Linked DNA regions of Homo sapiens: all the other regions are linked to region 1. The links are contacts of gene promoters, found by promoter capture Hi-C in human tissues and cell types (Jung and others, 2019). All regions are on one chromosome and are shown on one strand. Each heading gives the region's core, a stretch centred on a gene start or on the middle of the fragment in contact. The rest is flanking DNA. Distances are from core to core; before and after follow the strand shown.

Region 1 (4,797 bases), core at 542-3,041:
TGTGGGAATCATGGGTGAGCATTAAGTAGTATTAGCAAAAAAACTATGGATTGATGGTAAAAATTAAGAGGAAAATAAGAGAAAGGAACCAAACTCAGGAAAAGCAAAATACCTGAAGAGTGATAAAGTATCACATAGTGCCTCACAGACCACTTCCTACATGTTGAATAGGAACCTCTTTCTAGTCTTTCTTCATAATTCATTTCACAGCATACCATTTATTAAGATTTTTTAAATGCAACTCATGATGAATACAAATTGTGAAAAGTTCAGACTTCGTAACTTTAAATGTTTACCAGAGCAAGTCATAGTGATAGTAAAATATAAGTATTCAACATCAAAGTTTTTCTATATTACTATTCTCCTTTATATTCATTGACAACTTCTGAATTAGAAAAGTCAATCTCTGATGTCTTGTATCTTCTGCAGTTCAGCCATTATTAACAGAACTCAAAACATTTGAGGTTCTCAGATAAATTTTGAAGCCTGTTAAATTTGAAGTTGGCCTGAAACTTTTGCACAAAGTGAATTACCCCTATTTTATTTAGGGTTTTTGCCTATTGCAACTGATTTTCCTTTATCCACAGCTATTCTACATAATGTTATGCAGTGTTTGGTTGAATCCTTAACACTTTTCTTCCACCTTCCCTGCATGTAGTTTGTACTTTTTACAGTTTGGGGTTCCTGTGTGGATTTGATTTGCCACATTCCGGGACCTCATTGCGAGTGATTCTGTTCCCCAGTTTGATGATGTTCAAAGAAGCAGGTAAGTGAGAGCTGGGGTCAGATATAAGCAGAAAGTCAGAACTTTTTTATTTAAAAATTTTAAAAAAATTTTTTGAGGGTAAGAAAGATCTTGCAGTCTTTTAGGACCACTGCCCTAACAACTTCAGATAGGCTAGCTGTAAGTAGAAAGAAGCTAGGACTGTGGAATTGAATTTCCTGGATCAGCTGCAATTACAAGGAGGATAAGAGAATGGTTGAGCTGATTCTTTTCTATTTTCTTTTCCTAGAAATAGTATGTATTTTTAGTCATTAACTAGTATTTTGGTTTTGTTTAATATCCCAGAAGCATTTATTCCTCTCTTAATACAGGTAAAGTGCTCCTGATGACTCTCTCACTCAGAGAGTTATCTTACCCTTCTTTCAGGGAAAGTGAATTTTACAAGTTAATTCTGCATGTTTCCCCTACAACTGATTTCATTCTGTACCATTAAATGGCCATTTATTTTCTCCCTTCTACTTAATCCAAGATTGGACATTGTTGAGTTTTGTTTGAACAATGTTTGTTATGCTGAAAAAGGACACCAGGCCTGGGGGAACTCATCCTGTGTCTAGATCAACAAACAGAACTCCAGAGGGTCCTCTGGTTCCTCCCACTTGGTTGGAAAGGTGCTTACCCTTTCCAATCAAATATTGACTTCTGCACTAATCCAAAGGGTTTTCTTCTGAAGCTGTAAACTGAGAACAGAAATATTGCCTTGAGTGAGAGAAGTCTAGGAAGCAGCAGGTTTCATTTTTTGTCAGCCTGCCTGGCCTTTACTTGGCTAACACTTGGGAGTGTTGACAGTCCTGAGCCCCCTTGGCAGAGAACAAAGGTTAGAGAGAAGCCCTCAGGCAGGGGGACAGATCCCTCTTTGCCTCATTAGGGAGAATTCAGCCTTGTCTGTCTGGTTGGCAGGGCACACTTAATCACTGAGACTCAGCATTTCAGCAGTTTGCAAAGGAAAGTGATATGAAGGGACAGCTGCAAGTAAGCCACAACCTAGATCTGAAGAGATCAAGCACTCATTTCACTTGGAGGAAAGAGAGAAGGAAGGAAGCTGAGGACTTAGCAGGGTAAGTTTTTTTTTCCGTCAACCTGTCTGCTTGCTTAGTTTATAATTGAGTAAAGTATTTATCACCCCAGGCAGTGTTAATCACTGATTAAACAGCTGAATGTGGCCATAATTACAGTGTCCTTAATGTATTTCTCCTTCTCTTTTCCTACCCCCTTATAAGGATCTCCAATGACCAGTTTCAGTCTTCCTTCTCCCTACCTCTCCAAAGACGTTTTGCATTTTTTGGTGACTTACAGAAAATTAGATGAGCACTCCTTATCTGGAGATAGTGAAAATATGACTGTAGTTTAGGTGAAACTTGGGACTCTTGGTGGTAAAGAAGAAGATGGGAAACCTAGGTCTAGGAATAGATTAATATTTTGTCTTGAATTTGGACATGAAGGATAAAAGTTTTTCTAGGCAATCAAGATCATGTCTCCTCTCCAGTTCTTGGTGTTGGTGTTCTCTCTCTTATACTGGGACTAAATTAGAGCCTAAGTCACTGGGGATGGCTAGAAAAAAATGAAAGGGATTCCCTTTCTAAGTGGAGAGCATTCTAGACTCTGGAAAGTTCAAAGAGCTTACTGCAATTCTTTCCAGCTTCTCCTGTGAGTCCCCTGTTTTTTCCTTTGTTTCTCTCAGTTTATAACCTGTGAACAGGGAGTAGCCTGGGGCTCTTTACAGGAGATTTAGAACCAGGGAAGCTGTGTCTGGGCCTGGGGTATATAAACTCAAACATGAACCTGATGATGTATATAGATGCAGATCAAAGACCTGGCTTCTCACCCACCTTCTTTCTTTTCTGCCAGAAAGCTAACTCATTTGTATCATGAACATTGTGCTCTAGACACAGAGGAGACTGTGACATTAGGGATTTTTACCACCACTCCTCTTCCTCAAACTGTGTGATCCTTTTGCTTTCTGACCAGTTCAGCCAACTCCCAGATTGCCAAGAGCTAATCTTCCTTTAGAGGAAGACCTCACCTTGGAAATGCGGAAAAGTAAAGCAGTACCTTTCTGACCTTAAGTGGCTTGCTTCCATTGCAGCAAAAAGGCTTATGTTTTAACTTCAGGGAGATATCTATTATAAATTCTGGGATTTAAGACCCTAGAGTTGTCTCAAATCACACTTTCCTTCCATACCTATTTAAAAAAAAAAAAGTCATTCTTTCAAGGTTTAAGAAAGTGGTGTCTTGGCCGGGCGCCGTGGCTCATGCCTGTAATCCCAGCACTTTGGGAGGTCGAGGTGGGTGGATCACGAGGTCAGGAGTTCGAGACCAGCCTGACCAACATGGTGAAACCCCATCTCTACTAAAAATACAAAAATTAGCTGGGCATGGTGGCGCGAGCCTGTAATCCCAGCTACTCAGGAGGCTGAGGCAGGAGAATCACTTGAACCCGGGAGGTGGAGGTTGCAGTGAGCCAAGATCGCACCACTGCACTCCAGCCTGGGTGACAGAGTGAGACTCTGTCTCAAAGAAAGAAAGAAAAAGAAAATGTTATCTTGCCTGAGGCAGGTGGGTAGAGTAGATAAATGCTTTTTGTAGAATGGCAGTGATTCTGAAAATGCAATGAGAATGTGAGGTGATTAAAAGTGGAGGACAGAATGAGGTTAGTTGTTGGAAATTGGGCCCTAAAGTGTGAAGGGCAATTCCATTTACTCTTTTGGTAAAAGGACATGACCCTTAAACCCTAAGATAATCTAATATCATTAGGTCCAATTTCTTCATTGAAGGTAATATATAGGATATGGTATACAGATGAGCTTGACTATTTCTGTTCTGTGGACTGAAACCATCCATTCACCCATGGGATAAGGGGAGACATTAAGAGGGTGGATGGAAACATAAGGATGAGGAGATAGAAAGTACAAAGGAAAATACAAATTTGTTCCTCCATTAACCTGAGGACAGGTTTTTAAGAGTCATGTTGTAAGATATGGATATGAGCTGGATAATTCTGGGAGCTTTTTGTTTATTTTTGCCACCTGCATACACCTCAGCTGCATGATGATTCTGAGGTTTTTCCTAACAGATCTGATCTAGAAGGATCAAATGTCAGATCATTTTTGTAACAAAACATGATCCCTGGTTTGAACTTTAACAGTTTCCTCATTCACACTGCCAGCGTTTTTAATCCTCTGTTATTTCTCTGTACCTGAAGACAATCTGGGGATTAATAACTTTTTAGCCTCTCAATCTCTATGAATACCTTCCTTCCTTTCTTTTTTAATCGAAGTGAAAATCATATAACATAAAATTAATAATTTTAAAGTGAGCAATTAAATGGCATTTAGTGTATTCACGGTATTGTTCAACCATCAATTTTGTCTTGTTCCAAAACATTTTTATCACCCCAAAAGAAGACCCCATAACCATTAAGCAGTTACTCCCCATTTTCCCTTCCACCCAGCCCTTAGCAACTACCAATCTGCTTTCTGTCTCTGGGTTTACCTATTCTGGATATTTCATAGAAATGGCATCATACAACATGTATACAACATTTTGTGTCTGGCTTTCTTCACTTAGTATAATGTTTTTTGAAGTTCCTCTACATTGTAGCGTGTATCAGTATTTCATTTCTTTTTATAGCTGAATAATATACATCTTCATATGTATATTTATATCCCAATTTGTTTATCCATTTATCCATTGATGGACCTTTGGGTTGTTTCTACCTTTTAGCTGTTGCGAATAGTGCTGCTATGAACATTCACATATAAGTATTTGTTTGAGTATCTGTTTTTAAATATTTTGGGCACATACCTAAGAATGAAATTTCTGGTTATATAGTAATATTATGTTAACTTTTTGGGGAACTGCCGTACTGTTTTCTATGGTGGTGGCACCATTTTACATTCTCACCTGCAGTGTACGAGGGTTCAAATTACTCCATATCCTCATCAACACTTGTCATTTTCTGTTTTTTTTTTTTATAATAGCCATACTAGTGGGTATGAAGTAATATCTCACTGTGG
Region 2 (5,100 bases), core at 484-2,983, 79 kb after region 1:
AGGCCTTTTCAACAGGCACAGTGGCTCATGCCTTTTAATCCCAGCACTTTGGGAGGCTGAGGTGAGTGGATTGCTTGAGCCTAGCCGTCGAGACCAGCCTAGACAGCATGGTGAAACCCTGTCTCTACAAAAAATACAAAAATTAGCTGGGCGTGGTGGCGCATGCCTGTAGTCCCAGCTACTCAGGAGGCTGAGGTGGGACAATCACTTGAGCCTGGGAGGTTGAAGCTGCAGTGAGCTGTGATCACACCACTGCACTCCAGCCTGGGTGACAGAATGAGAGCCTGAAAAAAAAAAAAAGGAAGGAAGGAGAGATAAAAGACCTTTTCCAAAAAACAAATATCCAATTTATTATCGAAATTGTTTGTGCCCTTAGTATTGTAAAATTGACAGTATATCTGACTAAATAAGAAATACATTAAGACCTTTTCCAGTGGACTACCATTTTGTGTGGCTGCTTCTTTCCTGCTCTCAAAATATATTTTTGTAAAACTGAGAAGTTAAATAATGTTTGAAGGGAGCTTTGCAGATTAAAAAAAACGGTTACCAGAGAACACTGTGAACAGTGTATGGCAGCAGTCCCCAACCTTTTTGGCACCAGGGACCAGTTTCGTGGAAGACAATTTTTCCACAGACTGGGGGCAGCGGGGATGATTCAACCACATTACATTTACTGTGCACTTTATTTCTATTAGTATTACACGGTAATATATAATGAAATTTTTTTGTTTTGAGACGGAGTCACTCTTTTGCCCAGGCTGGAGTTCAGTGGTGTGATCTCAGCTCACTGCAACCTCTGCCTGCCGTGTTCAAGCGATTCTCCTGCCTCAGCCTCCCAAGTAGCTGGGACTTACAGGCATGTGCCATCACACCTGGCTAATTTTTGAATTTTTTAGTAGAGATGGGGTTTCACCGTATTGGACAGGCTGATCTCGAACTCCTGACTTGGTGATCCGCCCGCCTCGCCTTCCAAAGTGTTGGGATTACAGGCGTGAGCCACCGTGCCTAGCCTATATAATGAAATATTATACAACTCACCATAATGTAGAATCAGTGGGAGCCCTGAGCTTGTTTTCCTGCAGCTAGACAGTCCTATCTGGGGGTGATGGGAGACAGTGACAAATCAGGCATTCGATTCTTATAAGGAGTGCACAACCTAGATCCTTTGCATGCATCAGTTACAATAGGGTTCGCACTCCTGTGAGAATATAATGCTGCCACTGATCTGACAGGAGAGAGAGCTTAGGTGGTAATGCAGGTGATGCAGAGTGGCTGTAAATAGAGATGAAGCTTTGCTTGCTCGCCTGCTGCTTACCTCCTGCTGTACAGCCCAGTTCCTGACAGGCCACGGGCTGGTACTGGTTCATGGTTCGGGGTGGGGACCCCTGATGTAGGGTATGGGAGGTCAAGGTGTTCCTACTTTGTCTTGTGATACTTTGTGCTTAATGGGTTAGTTACCTGTATAAACATCTTTAGCGCTACCAGTGAAATCATCCTTGTGACCAGCTCCCTAAAGCACTGCCTGTCCAACAGCAAAGGTTGGATATGGGGAATAAAACAGTGCTGGACTATGGCATTTCCTTAGGTTTTCCCTGGTATTGGTTATGATGGAATATGGGTACTTGTGCAGCTGTGGTACATGAGGGGACAGGTTGATTCATTCTGTTTACAGAGACCAAAGAAAACAGAGGGACTTTTCCCAGTTGGTGATATGGAGCAAGTGCCATCAGCAGGCAGACTCGTGCAGATCACCGTGACAGAGGGATATGATTTGGTAAAGTTACTTTTGGAAATTTACAAAAATCCTTAGTTTGGGAGTACCTGCAGGAGGAATGGAATTTTGCTTCATTCTCTACCTCCAAACCTCCTGGCTTTATGTAGCAGTGGCATTCCGCCTCAGTGTTCCTTATTGTTAGTCTTAATCTCCAAGTCACATTACTGTGTGTCTCAAATACCCGGCAATTTGAATACTAAATTTAACAGGATGAAAGAAACAGTGGTTTTAGTTTCCCTAGACAGCAGTTCACGTATAATTTTTTTCCCTTTCTCCTGAGAAGGATCTGAATTCTTCCAGAGTTTCCCTTGTGATTAATTCTATTTGATTAATTAAAAAAACAACAACAATGTGATGTACTAAAAATTAGGAATATGATGAAATGGGAAAATATTCAGTATATTAAGTTTAAAAAGATCATTCCAAAGAGGATGTAATTAATGAGCTCCACTTTGTTTTAAAATGCATATATAAAAATGTATCTATGTGTGCATGTATGGGTACACACACGTACATCCATATATTCACAGCAGAACACTAGAAAATATATTCTAAAATATTAATAATGCTTGCATGTTACAGTAAGATTGTAGGTAATTAATTTTCTTACTTTTAAAAATGTTCCTCAGTAGCTTGCAGTGAGCTGAGATCGCGCCACTGCACTCCAGCCTGGGTGACAGAGCGAGACTCCGTCTCAAAACAAACAAACAAACAGAAAAAAAAATGTTCCACAGTATACTTTTATTATTAGGTGAAACACAATAAATGTTATTTTCAAGACTCCAACATAACAGCACTTCAATGGAATGTTGCATTTAAGTAAAACTAGATTTGTTTAATGATTTTTCTACCTATTCCTTTTGTATTTGTGATGTTGCTCGTTAGGAAAAAATGAAAAATGCTATTTAGCCCAAATCAAAATGGGTTACCAGATGTGTGGGAAAATTCTCTATTTGAATATAATTGTAAAGTGGTGTGTTTCTGCCAACAGAAAGGTTTTAAAGGAGATACTCCAGTTACCTTTATTCGAGCAGAATTCAATCAAGTGGTTCTGGGAGACTCTGCAAAAATTACTGTTTCTCCAGAAGGAAGTGCAAAATACAACTTCACTAGCAGTTTTGAGTTTAATCCTGAAGGAGGAATCACTTCAGATGACCTCGCTCACAAACCTGTGTTCTGTAAGTCCTTGTGGTTCTAAAAATCAATGTCCCGATTGCCTTCTTCCCTATCATGTTGGATGGGAAAAGCACAACCAAAACATTCTTTTAAACATGTAACTAAAATCATGAGAAAGAAAGGACAGTTCCTTTGTTCCCAGAAGCAAGGCAGGAACTGAAACGTGAAAATCTTGAACAGCTGCCATTGGTGTGTATGTGTTAGTGGAAGTGTGCAGGGAGAAGGCAGTACTCCAAAACCTAGGGGCTTGGGTTTTAATGCTCTCACAAGGACAGAAAACCTTTGGCTGTTGTTGATGGGGGAATAGAGACTGAGATCACCTCCCCATCACAAGTTAAGACTCTCAGAAAGTATGGACCAGGAAAATAAAATCTGCTTATCAGCATCTCTGTCTAGATCCTGGGTAGAGAAAAAAGTCTTCCCTAGGAATAATCATAGGCTTGTACTAACCATTAAAGAATATATATATTTTTAAAACACAGGAGGAGCATTTTTATGATAGCAATTGGCCACATTCTAAGCGATAAAGCAAGTCCTACCATAGATCAAAGGATCAACAGCATACAGACCACCTTTTCTGCCAAAATGTAACAATCAACAAAATTAGAAATCAATAACAAAAAGCCAAAAAGCTATTTGGAAATTTAAAAACATACTTATGAATCATTCATGGGACAAATAAAAAAGTCATAATAAAAATTGCAAAGCATTTGGAAGAGATCAACAGTAAAACACCAAATATCAGAATTTGTGGGATATAGTTAAAGGTGTACTTAGAGGTACATTTATAATCTTAAGCGCATTAATTAGAAATAAAAAGGATTAAAAGCAGAACTTTTGAGAAGATGGAATAGATGTACTTTTCTCTATTCCTCCCACTGAGTACAACTACAAACCCTGGACATTATATATAAAACAAACATAAGAGACTCTGAAAGGTGGAGAGAAGGAAACTTGGGACCTGGGGAATGACACAGTGGTGAGTTCTTTGGGTTTTCTTTTTGCCTTATATATCCCATACTTCTTGCTGAAGAAGGTGGCAACCTGGAGACACCAATGGGCACAGACCAAAAAAAAGAAAAAAGAAAGAAAGCCTGATAAAAGTCTGCTCTGTTTAGCCAAAAGACTATGAAAGCGGCAGCCTAATAAGACAGAAAAGTTTTAGACAGTAATTCCCGTACTCCAGCCAAACACCGTAGGAAAAAAACCCCCACCCTCAATCAAGCTGAGTGGAGAGCCTAGACTTCCACTCTCACAAAGCTCAAAAATGAGGTTCTCCATTACCCTAGTGATGTCAGAGAAGACCAAGTAGGGAACCAGGGCTTTTATCCCCTCTAGTAATGAGTCCCCTTCCCACCCCTCATAATGTTAGTGGAGACCACATGGATCTTGGACTTCTATCCCAAACTGTCAGCAGCAAGGTGTCCCTTCACTTCCCACTGGAGTGGTGTCAGAGGAGGCCTAGTTTAGAGTCAGAACTTTCACCATCACCCAAGGGTAATGAGTCCACACCCACTGTGGTATCAGTGGAAACCAAGTAAGGAATCAGGACTCCAATTCCCCTGCTCAGCAGTAATGAGGAGCTGCCTCCATCAGGTGTCAGAGGAGGCTGAGTAGGGAACCTAGACTTCCACCCCAACTTGTCAGTAATGAGGCAGCATCTCCTTCCTTCCCCTTTTGGGGTGGTGTTGGAAAAAGCCAGCTGAAAACAGAAGGTGTAAGTAAGATCCAGAGATTCATAACAATAGGAAAAGTCCAGGTTTCAACTTAAAACCATAAGTCATTCCAAAAACTGGAAGATCTCAAATTGAATTAAAAAACATAATGGGCTGGGCACAGTGGCTCAAGCCTGTAATCCCAGAACTTTGGGAGGCTGAGATGCGTGGATCACAAGGTCAGGAGTTCAAGACCAGCCTGGTCAAGATGGCAAAACCCCGTCTCTACTAAAAATACAAATATTAGCCAGGCGTGGTGGAGCCTGCCTGTAGTCCCAGTTACTCAGGAGACTGAGGCAGGAGAATCACTTAACCTGAGAGGTGGAGGTTACAGTGAGCCGAGATCATACCACTGCACTCCAGCCTGAGTGACACAGTGAGACTTTCTCTCAAAAAACAAAAACAAAAACAAACAAAAAAACAATGACTGGGTGC
Region 3 (4,843 bases), core at 691-3,190, 120 kb after region 1:
GGAAGGATGACAACACCATTAAGAGAAAAATCAAGAGAGATTGACATTGGGGAAATAATAAATTCAATTTTGGACATGTATTTAGGATGCTGGCAAAAATCTGGGTAGAGCTGTCCAGCACTTGGAGTTGGTAGATGGTAGTGAGGAGACTGTGAGTGGGAATGTAAGAAGGTTATGAAGAGAATTTTTCTGCAGGACCACCTGAAAGAAGGTTGCTGGAAGAAAGAAAGGCATTCACTTAAAACAGTTCCTGGGAAAGTATTGAGAACAAGTTAAACAGGGCTTCAGCCTTGTTACACTGTAGAAGCTTCCAAGAATAAAACTGAAAATCCTTTCCTCTAAGAGATAACCACTGTTGCTATATTTCTTTCCAGTTATTTTTCTATGTGAAAAGTATTTTAACAGTTGAGATCACACTGTATATGTAGTTATATATGCAGTTTTCTCACTTATTATATTGTGAGCATCATCTTATGTTACTAAATTTTTCATAAATATATTTTTTTCTGGAAATAATAAGAAAACAATGTCTTTACAGCAATATGTAGAAGCAGGGACATACATTGTGTTGGAAATTCAGCTGGACAAAGCCTTGGTTCCAAAGCGAATGCCAGAGGAGCTAGCCAGAAGGTTTGTAGCTATGGTGCTTATACTAGTTTTGTACAATTTGGGTATAAATAAGAGGAAGTCAGATTGTCCCCACGATTGTAATTTCCCTTGGGCTAAGCAGGAGTTATCTGGTTTTTTTCTAGATGAAGTTTTTGTTGTTGTTGTTATTTTTGTTACCTTATCACAAAAGCATTGCATGCTCACTATAAAAATTTTTAGGAAGCTGGGTGCGGTGGCTCATGCCTGTAATCCTAGCAGTTTGGGAGGCCAAGGTGGGGGGGATTGCCTGAGCTCAGGAGTTTGAGACCAGCCTGGGCAACACGGTGAAACCCCGTCTCTACTAAAATACAAAAAATTAGCCGGGCATGGCGGCATGCACCTGTAACCTCAGCTACTCGGGAGGCTGAGGCAGGAGAATTGCTTGAACCTGGGAGGCGGAGGTTGCAGTGAGCCGAGATCGCACCACTGCACTCCGGCCTGAGAGACAGAGAAAGACTCTATCTCTAAAAAAAAAAAAAAATTCTTAGGAAATACGGATGAACAAGAAAGTATATAAAAATACCCAAGGTCAGGTGTGGTAGCTCATTCCAGCACTTTGAATCCCAGCACTTTGAAAGGCCAAGGCGAGAGGATCACTTGAGCCCAGAGGTTTGAGACCAGCTTGGGCAACATAGTGAGACCCCATCTCTATAAAAAATTAAAAAATAAAAACATCCAGATCTCTACTCACCTAGTGATAACTGCTTTTAACACCTTGGTGTTGTTATCCTTCTGGAGTTATTTTAAAGCCCCCTATATTACACATACACACATAAACACACACACGCATGTTACATATACATATATGTAATTTAAAAAAACTGTTTATATTGTACCATAGTGCTTTGCTTGTGTGCTACTAGGAAACTGTGCATTCATCTGGGTTATTCAACTTGTTCGCATACAATTGTTCATAGTATTCTAATACTCCTTTTTATCCCTCTAAAATTGGTAGTAATGTTTCCACTTTCATGTCTTCTCTCTTTTTTCAGTCAGTCTTGCTAAAAGTTTGTCAATCTTGTTGATCTTTTTGAAAAACCAACTTTTAAAGCTTATTGATTTTCTCCATTATTTTTCTATTCTCTAATTTGTTTTTACTCTAATCTTCATTCTTTCTTTTATTATGTCTTCTGCTAGCTTTGGGCATAGTGTGCCCCCCTTTTGCTAGTTCCTTAAAGAATACAGTTATGTTATTGATTTTGAGTTTTCTTCTTCTTTAGTGTATGTGTAGAGAACTATATATTTCCCTCTGAGCACTGCTTTCACTGCATTTCATAATTTTTTATTTGGTTTTTGTTTTCATTTGTCTAAAGGTTTTTTTTTTTTTTTCATTTCTCTTGTGATTTCTTCTTTGAACCATTGGTTGAATGTGTTGCTTAAATTTTCTTATTTCAGTTATTTAATATTCTTATTTTCTTAATTTTAAGTCTTCTGTTACTGGGTTTTAGTTCTATTTCCTTGTGATCAGAAAATATGCTTCATATGATTTCAATCTTTTTTTTTTTTTTTTTGAGACGGAGTTTCACTCTTGTTGCCCAAGCTGGAGTGCAATGGTGTGATCTCAGCTCATGGCAACCTCTGCCTCCTGGGTTCAAGTGATTCTCCTGCCTCAGCCTCCTGAGTAGCTAGGATTACAGGCATGTGCCATCACACCTGGCTAATTTTGTATTTTTAATAGAGACGGGGTTTCTCCATGTTGCTCAGGCTGGTCTCGAACTCCTGACCTCAGGTGATCTGCCCGCTTCGGCCTCCCAAATTGCTGGGATTACAGGCATGAGCCATCATGCTCAGCCATGATTTCAATCTTTTAAAGTTTATTGATCCTTGTTTTGTGGCCTGACATACGGTATACCCTGCAGAATGTTCTATGTGCACTTGAGAAGAATGTGTTATCTGTTGTTATTGGGTGGAATGTTCTATATATGTCTGTTAGGTCTAATTGGTTTATAGGGTTGTTCAAATCCTTTCTTTCTTTCTTTCTTTTTTAGATAGAGTCTCGCTCTGTCACCCAGGCTGGAGTGCAGTGGCATGATCTTGGCTCACCGCAACCTCTGCCTCCCGGGTTCAAGCAATTCTCCTGCCTCAGCCTCCCAAGTAGCTGGGACTATAGGAGCACATCGCTGCACCCAGCATTTTTTTTTTTTTTTTTTGTATTTTAGTAGAGATGGAGTTTCACTGTGTTGCCCAGGCTGGTCTTGAACTCCTGAGCTCAGGCAATCTGCCCGCCTCAGCCTCCCAAAGTGCTAGGATTACAGGCATGAACCACCATGCCCGGCCCAAATCCTTTATTTTTTTACTAATTTCCTGTCTGGTTGTTTTATCCATTATTGAAAGTAGAGTATTGAAGTCTCTATTATTGTAGGACTATCAGTTTCTCCCTTCAATTCTATCAGTTTTTGCTTTATAAATTTTGGGGTTCTGTTGTATATGTTTATAAATGTTGTATGGGGTTCTGTTGTATATGTTTATAAATGTTGTATTTTATTGCTGTATTTAACCTTTTATCAATATTTAATGTCCTTATTTGTCTCTTGTACCCTCTTTTTATTTGAAGTTTATTTTGTCTGACAGTAATATAGCCATCTCAGCTCTTTTTTACTATTTGTATGGAATATCTGATTTTATCCTACCTTTGACTTCCTCCTGTCCTTACATCTAAAGGGAGTATCTTGTAGACAGCAGATAGATGGATTCTGTGTGAGTTTTTCTAATCTAATCTGCCAGTGTCTGCTTTTTAATAGGAAAGTTTAATCCATTTACATTTAATGTGATTACTGATAGAGAAGGATTTACTTCTGCCATTTATCTGTTTGTTGTCTTCATGTCTTATTTTTTTTTGTTCTTCAGTTCCTTTATTGCTGCCTTTTTATATTTAGCTGATTTTTTGCAGTATGCCATTTGGATTTCCCTCTTCTTTCCTTTTCTGTGTATTTTTTTAGTTGTTGTCTTAGTAATTAACTTGGAGACAACAATTAGCACCTTAAACCTGTAACAGCTTAGTTTGAATACAAACTTAATTTCAGTACTATACACTCTGCTCCTATACATCTCCATCCCTCCCGTTACATTGTTATTGTCACAGATTACATATTTATCTATTGTGTGCCTACTAACATAGACTTATCATTATTATTTTATGCATTTGTCATCAAAAAAAAGAGGAGAGAAAGAGGAGTTACAAGTTGAAAGTGCAATAATACTGGCTTTCATATTTACCTTTACTAGTGTTCTTTATTCCTTCATCTGACTTCAAGTTACTGACTAGTGTCCTGTCATTTCAGCCTGAAGGACTCCCTTTAGCGTTCCTTATGAGGTAGGTCCTGTTATCAAACTGTCTTAATTTTGTTTATCTGGGATTGTCTTAATGTCTTCTTCACTTTTGAAGGATAATTTACTAGATATAGAATTCTTTTACCTTTTTTTTCTGTAATTTTTGTAGAGACATAGTCCCACTATGTTTCCCAGGCTGGTCTCAATCTCTTGGCCTCAAGTGGTCATCCCTCCTCAGCCTCCCAAAGTGCTGGGATTATAGGCATGAGACACCTGGATATAGAATTCTTAGTTGTCAATTTTTTTTTCTTTCAGACTTTAAATATGTCATCTCAGTGACTTCTGGCCTCCATGGTTTTGATAAGAAATCAGCTGTTAATCTTATTGAGGATCACTTGTATGTGACAAGTCACACCTCTGTTGCTGTTTTTGATATTTTTTCTTTGTCTTTGTGTTTTGACAATTTGACTATGGTGTGTTTTAGTGTGGACATATGAGTTTTTCCTGCTTGGAGTTTATTAAGTTTCTTGGATGTGTCAATTCATATCTTTCACCAAATTTGGGAAGTTTTGGGCCATTATTTCTTAAAAATTCTTTCTTCCCCCTTTCTTCTCTAGAAAGGGGGAAGTTTCTTCCAGAACTTCCATAATGTGTATGCTGGTCAGCTTGATGGCATCCTATAGGTCTTAAATTCTGTTCACTTTTCTTCATTCTTTTTCTTTCTGTTCCTCAGACTGAATTATTTTAATTGTTCCATCTTCAGTTTTGCCGATTCTTTCTTCTGCCTGATCAAATCTGCTGTTGAACCCTTTAGTGAATTTTTTATTCCAAATATTGTACTTTTAAGCTCCAGACTTCTTGTTTTTTTAAAAAATAATTTCTGTTTCTACTGATACTCTAATTTTGTTCATACATTGCTTTCCTT

Evidence for each region. The method cuts DNA at HindIII sites, captures the fragments that hold promoters and counts their contacts. A contact is called where the count stands out against the background at its distance.
Region 2: a fragment that was not itself captured here is called in contact with the fragment with the promoter of MSS51 in region 1 in 2 of the 25 tissues and cell types used here (liver and mesenchymal stem cells).
Region 3: a contact is called between a fragment that was not itself captured here and the fragment with the promoter of MSS51 in region 1, in 3 of the 25 tissues and cell types used here (bladder, mesendoderm cells and thymus).

The regions. Positions count from the first base shown.
Region 1 is chr10:73,430,555-73,435,351 of GRCh38, reverse strand. It overlaps MSS51 (MSS51 mitochondrial translational activator), which reads left to right and starts at 1,791. Exons shown (of 7, transcript NM_001024593.2): 1 at 1,791-1,839. The HindIII fragment of the contact is 24,221 bases long and covers 1-4,797 here.
Region 2 is chr10:73,351,408-73,356,507 of GRCh38, reverse strand. It overlaps CFAP70 (cilia and flagella associated protein 70), which reads left to right. Exons shown (of 28, transcript NM_001367801.1): 2 at 1,673-1,774; 3 at 2,766-2,952. The coding sequence starts at 1,712. Among named protein-coding and RNA genes, the nearest start is that of CFAP70, 4.9 kb to the left of the region's middle. The HindIII fragment of the contact is 5,225 bases long and covers 1-4,345 here.
Region 3 is chr10:73,305,945-73,310,787 of GRCh38, reverse strand. It overlaps CFAP70 (cilia and flagella associated protein 70), which reads left to right. Exons shown (of 28, transcript NM_001367801.1): 13 at 539-630. Among named protein-coding and RNA genes, the nearest start is that of CFAP70, 50 kb to the left of the region's middle. The HindIII fragment of the contact is 3,629 bases long and covers 126-3,754 here.